2 separate regions of the Homo sapiens genome follow, and region 2 is linked to region 1. Evidence: promoter capture Hi-C in human tissues and cell types (Jung and others, 2019). All regions are on one chromosome and are shown on one strand. The core of a region is centred on a gene start or on the middle of the fragment in contact, and the rest is flanking DNA. Distances in the headings are between cores, read along the strand shown.

Region 1 (4,063 bases), core at 925-3,424:
AGTCATTAAAATACTTTCATACCAGTTGCTAAGTAGCTAATCTTAGCATCCTTGCCAAACAAGTTGTTACATATTTGCAATATATAACTATGTGTTATTTCTACTTTCAGCTTCTAAAAATAGTAGCTAACAGGGAAGGAACTTGATTTTTGCGGAATGATCGAATGTCTATATATCTTTCAACATTTTAGTCATACCTCTTCATCTTGGAATCCTGGTTCTTCCGCCACAACTTGATCCTCCTTCATATTGAAAAGTGGGCAACAGAAAAATAATCACTTCTGGGAAAATAAGAAATATTATGTAAGAAGTAGTCCTTTGTCCAGGGGCCTCTGATTTCATTTCAAAGTCAACAAGGACTAGAAGGACAGTAAGAGAAGCATTTAGCTTGGAAAGATGAGGCCAGCCTATCTTCTTTCTGCGAGACATGTGACATTATTTCTTGTGTGTGTGTGTGTGTGTGTGCATGTGTGTGTGTGTCCCCACATGCACACAGATGCCTGAGGGGCAAATTGGGGGGTGCTTATTTAGTTTCTTCTCTTTCCCCAACAGTGATCACTTATCATCTGGTTTCCATTGCACAGCTAATCATGACTTTATTACTGCCTTGAATGTTATTTAGAATTGCATATTGCTTTTAACCTTTCTTGTTTATGTTTAACAACAATACTCTAGGAACCTTGACATTATATCATTCTTCCTTGTGTCCTCCCTGACACCTCCAACTTTGTCCTCAATAAATGGATTCTATTTTTCTCATCTATGATGAATGCCTTCCTGCCTGCTGATTATGAATGGGTACTCCTGTAACATCCACCTTTTTGTTTCATAGAACATTAGCTATACTTTCTTTCACAGTATTTACTAGTTTCATGATTTTTTTAAGATTTAAAAATATGGTGGTCCGGGTGTGGAGGCTCATGCCTGTAATCCCAGCACTTTGGGAGGCCGAGACAGGCAGATCACGAGGTCAGGAGTTCGAGACCAGCCTGGCCAATCCCCGTCTCTACTAAAAATACAAAAAAATTAGCCGGGCGTGGTGGTGGGCGCCCGTAATCCCACCTACTTGGGAGGCTGAGGCAGGAGAATCGCTTGAACCTGGGAGGCGGAGGTTGCACTGAGCCGAGATCATGCCACTGCACTCCAGCCTGGGCGACAGTGCGAGACTCAGTCTCAAAAAAAAAAAAAAAAATTGGTGGATCATAATATTATATTAAGGCTGATAAGCAGTTAAAGTTTTTAACATTGTAGACTCAAAAAGAAATCTCAGGAATCCACAAGGCGTGATTGTGTTTATTTATTACAATAAAATGCGGTCCAAATCATCATTTTTCTTGGTCGATTCCATTTCCTCATTTGATACCAAAGTCAGGGGTTGGACCCTAGAACAAAGGGAACGAACCATTAATACTAAGGCAGGAGCAGGGTCCTACCACCCAGCACCTCAAACGGCAAAGGATGGAAGGCAACCGAGACCGTTCGGATGGGATCTTCGGGGACACTGTCCTTCAGATGGCTAGCTATGAGTACCCCAATTCCACATTTACTGTCCCCATCGAAGAGAAAAACAGCATTCATTTCTTCTCCCCGTGATGAAATGAAAAGATTGTCCCCCATCTCTCAAGGAGCCGTTGATAGACTGAACCGTTGGATTGAAAGTAGGGCTCCCCAATCCCCCGGTTTAAGACGACCCAGCTGTCCCCTCTGGTGGGGGCAGCAGCGCGGTCGGGTCGCCCTCGACGCCTCCCTCAGCAGGAGGCCTGGGCAGACCCCCTGCGGCCGCCGGACATTTTCCTGACACCGGATTCCCTGGTCAGGAGGATGAGGCGGGCTCTCCTAGACTCAGGTCCGATTCGATTGAAAATGAGGTTGGAAATCCCTCAAGATCACTAAAATTCCTCCCCAAAGGTCGGAGCGGAACGCTCAAAGTCACTAGCCCAGGGACCCCAAAAAAGGAGCGAGAAAGGGAAGCGCGCCTTCTCAAAACGAGCGTCCCCTCAGAGTCTTCGCACGCTGTTCGTTTTTGCCACTTACCCCCCTCGTACCCACAGTCTCCCCGAGATTTTCAAGGTGAAGCCCCTCTGCCCCGCCCGACCTCCTCAGCTGACAGGATTCTAACTCGGGCCTAGAACACGGAGCCTGGAGACCCGCGCGCCGTTGACCACAGGGTTTGGCGCCAAACGAGGAGGGCGGGGCGAGGACCAAGGGGCCGGGGCGGGGCGCAGGGTGAGGGTGGAAGGGCGGGGAGGGAGCAGGCCTACAGAGGGCGACGAGGGGCGGGGAGCAATGGGGGCGGGGCGAAGACCGAAGGGCGGGGAACGAGCGGGCTCACAGGTGGGGGGACCAGAGGGCGTGGCCTGGAGGGGGCTCAGGGCGAGGGGGCGGGGCGAGGGCTGAGGCGCGGAAAACGAAGAGGAGCCCCAGCGGGTGGCGAGCTGGGATGACGGAGGGAGGGAGGGAGGGGCGCTGTGGAAGGAGCGCGCTGAGGAGCGGGGCCTTGAAGGGAGACCGTTGAGCTGGGGCGTCCCTCGAGCTGAGCACCTCGCTAAAGTCCGGGAGAAGACCCTGAGGCGGGGTTCTGAGGAGGTAGCCTTGAGTCGGGGGAGGGGCGATGAGCAGAGGTGGCTGACTTTGGCGATAGGTCTTGGTCGCGAGGGTTGCAGATGGAGCCTTGGCTTAGAAGGTCGAATCCGGGCCCGTTTCCCCCCGCCCCCGCTGCCCATGGCTTCTCTTTTCACCTCCAGGTTTTCATGCTGGCTTCAGAGTTTGGCCGTGCTCCCTCAGCGTTCCTAATTTCCCACTTTCTGACTCTCACCATTTGCCACTCTTGTCTGTGATTGAGACACCCGAGGCCCATTCAGGATGGAGAGTAATTTTTTCTCTGTCTTAACTTGAAGTTTTAAATAGACCACAGACGCCAAGTATATTTTGGTTCAGCTTTTAAATAGAAGTCGCAGGCCAGCCTTCGTGCCAGCAGCGCCATCGCTGGCAGCATCCTCCTCCTCCCCTCACGCGGAGACTGACTTGGGGAGAGTCAGGAAACATTTGAGAGAGCAGCTGCCGAGGTGGAGGCTGTGATGTATCTTGGATGAATCTCTGTGCAAACAGTTCTTTGGGTTCAAGACCTAGTACAGGGCGATCCTTTTTGTTTTTTCTGTCTGAATCATTTTGGTGGAATAAATAGCAAAACATTCCCACAATAGCAGTTGGCATTTTGTGTAGGACGCACCCCCCCAACAGGTGGATTGTTTTAAGAGCCAACAAATAACTGCCATTGTGCTTCCAAATCTGTTATTTTCCCCCAAACACAGTCGTCCTTGTTATATGGAGATGAATGCCCATTTGGGGGAGGAACTGGATAGTGGTGAAAGGCTTTCGCTCTGAGGCCTCACCTAAATAATTATGGGAACTTTTGAGCAACTCGTTAGGTGAAGACATCAACAGTCTACAGAAGAGCTGCAAAGAGCACAGCAAGATGATTTAGGGAAATATAACATATGTAGTTTGGTGTAGTGACAGCTGGGAGAGAGAAATGTTCATAATATTTGAAGGTTGTGTGCAGTACACTTAAAAAAACTAAAATGAGCTGGGTAATGACAAATTCATGAAGGGAGGAGAAAAATCTTATCTGGGTATCATATCGATGGTTAGAGACAACTTTTAAGATATTTAAAACAACAACAAACTCTAGGACAGTTAAAAAGTGCACATGAAGACTTTCCACTAAAATCGGAACCAAAAAAATTGTCTTTCGTATCATACAAAAACTCTGAATATCATGAAGGTGGCATTTCACATCAGTGGAGAAATGATGAATTCAGTGAATAGTGTTAGAACAACTAGGTAACCATCTGGAAGAAAAATAAAATTGGAACCACACTTTACACATTATACCAAAATAAATTCCAGACAGATCAAAAAATTAAATCTGAACAATAAAATAATAAAAGTACTAGAAGAAAATATGGGATATTTAAAATTACTTTGTAATAAGAAACATCTTTTTAAGTATGCTACAAAACTCAGAAGCCATGAAAGATTGTTAAGTATGCTTATATTTAAA
Region 2 (3,761 bases), core at 766-3,265, 240 kb before region 1:
ACAATGTAGCCCAGAAGCAGCCCTGAGTAAGAGGAAGATGCTTACATTACAATGTTGCTATTCTTAGGAGCCGAGCAGAGTTCAATGCAGGGCTCCTGACTTGGGCTCCTCTGAGCACCTGAGCCCTGCAGGCTGTATCCCCCGCCTCTCCTTTCCTTTTGTCACCCTTCCTCTGGAGGGGCCACCGCCAGCCCCTTCTACGGTGGGAGTTGGAGATATGCAAACCTAGTTGGGCCCAGGGGAGCTGCTAGCCTTGCCCATCTTGGTCTTGGCTCTCGAAGGCCCCGGTGGGAAGCTTCTCAGGGTCCTCCCCTTTTCAGGCCCTGTTCATGGAGAGTCTGTGGCCCACAGGCTCCAGAGGTTCCCCCGCCCCCAGCCCTGCCAGCCTGAAGATGCTGTCCTGGGGCACTCTCCTCTCCTTACCCAGCTAGGCCTTGGCTCTTTGTCCCCAGACCCTTCCATGACATCCTACCCACCCCTCACTATTCCCAGGGCACAGCTTTGGCCCCAGGCTCTCTTTTCAGGCACTTCTTCCAGGGAACCTCACCACTGGGCCGTGCCCGGTCAGGTCACTCCTGCCAGGGCTTCCTCCCTCCTCTTCCATCTTCAGCGGAGAGGCAGCAGGGCAGGGTAGCAAGGTCTGGGTTTGGTCCCTGGTCAGTCTGAATTTCAGCGCGACCTTGGAGAATCCACAGCCCTTCTCTGAGGAGCTGGACAAAGTGAGTGCTAAAGCTCTCAGTCTCCCCAGCTGAAGCTAAGGGCAGGGCTGGATGGGCAAGGACCCTACACTCCACATCCCGGGCACTAAGCTGAGAAAGACCTTGAGGTGACAAATCTGGGCTCAGTGGGAAACGGCTCTCCCCGCACCCCTTACCCCCATATTCAAAACCTGAGCAGCTCCCATGAGCTCTACCTTCCAACTGGATTCTGAACCCAGCCACTCTTACCACGTGTGTCTTCCACTTGGCTACTACAGTGGCCTGTTAACCACTGAGATCTGACTGTGGCTACTGAAAATACACCAGTGGCTCCTTCTTCCCTTAGCATGAAATTCACATTCTTTCCCAGGGCCTGCTATGATCTAGCCCCTGCCTGCCTCAGACCCCATTTCAAACCTCACTCTCCCTCCCTCACTGTCTGTCATCTCACCATGCCTCAGGGCCTTTGCCTGGCTGTTCCTCTGCCTACAATGATCTCCCCAAATCCTCCATGACTGCCTCCTACTCAGGGCTCAGATCACAACTCAAAAGTCACCTCTGCACAGAAGCCCTCCTTGACTGGTCTTCAGTGGGCTTCCTTCCCCTCTGTCCTTCCTGTACTGGGGATATCCTGCTTTTTTTTTTTTTTTTTTTTTTTGATACGGAGTCAGTCTGTCGTCAGGCTGGAGTGCAGTGGCGCGATCTTGGCTCACTGCAACCTCCGCCTCCCAGGTTCAAGCGATGCTCCTGCCTCAGCCTCTTGAGTAGCTGGGATTATAGGCGCGCACCACCACGCCCAGCTAATGTTTGTATTTTTAGTGGAGACGGGGTTTCACCATATTGGTCAGGCTGGTCTGGAACTCCTGACCTCGTGATCCGCCCGCCTCGGCCTTCCAAAGTGCTGGGATTACAGGTGTGAGCCACCGTGCCTGGCCAGCTGCTTTATCTTCTTCATGGTACTTATGACTGGCTGAAACATTAACTTGTTCATTTTTAATGCTCTTAGGGTCTCTCCAAGACAGAGAAATCTCCCATAGGTGCTCCTGTGGGTACCCAACTGGTCATGGGTGCCCCGTAAATACTTGTGCAATGGTGATGTTGTGTGTGTGATCTCAGGGGTGAAGGCAGGGCCTGACACTTTCCATCCTGAGCCAGATGTTCCCTAACAGCCCTCCCTCAGGGCCACCTTGCCCCACCCATCCCTTCTCACGGTGGCTGCCTGTCCTCCTGCTCTGCTGGGGCCCTCTGTCCTCCTGCTCCACTCAGCATTCCCTGTGCTGTTGCAACTCCCAGAGGAGCCAGGAGCGCCTGTCACGTGTCCCCAGGAGCAGGGAGCACTACACAAATCCTTGGCATCCCCAAAGGGCCACCCGTGCCCGGCCTCCAGCTCACCTCTGCCTGCTTCCTTCCCTCAGCTTGGCCTGTCACCCCCGGCCCTATGGGCTCCTCTGACCCCTCTGCTCATCACAACATCCCTTGTTTGTGCTGCAGTCAACCAGCGCCCAAACCTGCTCCTTCTGTCCTCTGAGAAGCCAGGGCTTCCCGTTCCCAGCTCACACAACCACTCATTAGCTGGGCTCCGGGAATGAGGATGATTGCTGCGACTAATAATCCCGATGCCCACAGCAGCGCTCCTCGCTCGGCATAGTTGGTGCGACTCATCATCCTGCCACATCACACGTTCACCCACAAGCATTTCCTGATGCCAACTCCTTGCAGGGCCTCAGAGGTCTGCGCCGGCCCCAGCTTGCCAGGAGCTGACGATCCGACAGGAGAGGCTGAATAGACACAAGAAAAAAGAGGGTCCTACAGTATTGAGAGAATACGCTAGACAGTGACCGCCACAGGAAAGTCAGTGTCTGGGGGCAGTGGTGGTGCCAATGGCTGGCGAGCAGCCGTCTCCCCTTCGCCCTGGGCATTTTGTGATGTGGGCAGTTGCTATTCTTGTAATTTTATGTGAAGTGCTACACAAATACAGCACTGAGACAAGTCTCCGACCCCTGCTTCCCCTGCCATCAGACTGTCTCCCTAAGCCCTGTCTATAGAGAAATTCTGAAGTTGACACGGGGGTGGAAGGGAGGAGGCAGGACTTGAAAGTAGGTGGGATGCCGGGCACGGTGGCTCACGCCTGTACCCCCAGCACTTTGGGAGGCCAAGGCGGGCAGATTACCTGAGCTCGGGAGTTCAAGACTAGCCTGACCAACATGGAGAAACCCCGTCTCTACTAAAAATACAAAAAATTAACCGGGCGTGGTGGCACGCACCTGTAGTCCCAGCTACCCGGGAGGCTGAGGCAGGAGAATCACTTGAACCAGGGAGGCAGAGGTTGCAGTGAGCCAAGATTGTGCCACTGCCCTCCTGCCTGGGTGACAGAGCAAGACTCAGTCTCAATAAAAAATAAACAAATTAAATAAATAAATAAATAAATAAATAAATAAATGTAGGGGGGATCTGGATGGTGGTTGGCTGGGGGGAAGGAACAGCCCTGAGCAATAGCTGAACGGTAGGAACCTCGGATATTTGGGGGTGGGAAGGGCCCACTGTGGGGAGACCAGTCAAATGGCACCCAGGCCTCCCTCAGGGGAGAAGGCTGAAGAGGATGGAAGAGGTAAGAGGATCTCTAATCCCAGGAGCTGACTAGGAGATTTAGCCAATGGCTTTGCTCAGAACAGCTTAGAGTTTTGCTCATGGACAAGAGGAGAGAAAAAAACTAGGATTTACTGGATGGACAGCGTGCAGGCTCCCCACTGGGTACTCAGCACTGAATCTGGTTTAATAAATGCCACAGGAATCCTGTGAGCTGGAGATCACCCTGCCCATTTTGCAGGTAGAAACCTGAGGTTCACAAGGAGTTCAAGATCAGTTCAGGCAACAAGGGAGACCCTGTCTCTATTCAAAAAATAAAAAAATTAGCTGGGCATGGTGGCACATGCCTATGGTCCCAGCTACTCAGGAGGCTGAGGAGAGAGGATCGCTTGAGGCCAGGAGATCGAGGCTGCAATGAGCCAAGATCATGCCACTGCACTCCAGCCTGGGCAACAGAATAAGATCCTGTCAAAAAAA

Evidence for each region. The method cuts DNA at HindIII sites, captures the fragments that hold promoters and counts their contacts. A contact is called where the count stands out against the background at its distance.
Region 2: a fragment that was not itself captured here is called in contact with the fragment with the promoter of DMC1 in region 1 in 1 of the 25 tissues and cell types used here (aorta).

Annotation. Positions count from the first base shown.
Region 1 is chr22:38,568,009-38,572,071 of GRCh38, forward strand. It overlaps DMC1 (DNA meiotic recombinase 1), which reads right to left and starts at 2,175. Exons shown (of 14, transcript NM_007068.4): 1 at 2,035-2,175; 2 at 198-281. The coding sequence starts at 248. LOC105373031 (a long non-coding RNA gene) reads left to right here and starts at 2,492. Exons shown (of 2, transcript NR_134627.1): 1 at 2,492-2,586; 2 at 2,745-3,350. RefSeq lists a silencer at 2,171-2,460 and enhancers at 2,764-3,274, 2,861-2,910. The HindIII fragment of the contact is 22,042 bases long and covers 1-4,063 here.
Region 2 is chr22:38,325,625-38,329,385 of GRCh38, forward strand. The region is part of intron 5 of TPTEP2-CSNK1E (TPTEP2-CSNK1E readthrough); the gene reads right to left. Among named protein-coding and RNA genes, the nearest start is that of CSNK1E, 10 kb to the left of the region's middle. RefSeq lists a silencer at 1-294 and an enhancer at 1,892-2,403. The HindIII fragment of the contact is 5,320 bases long and covers 1-3,761 here.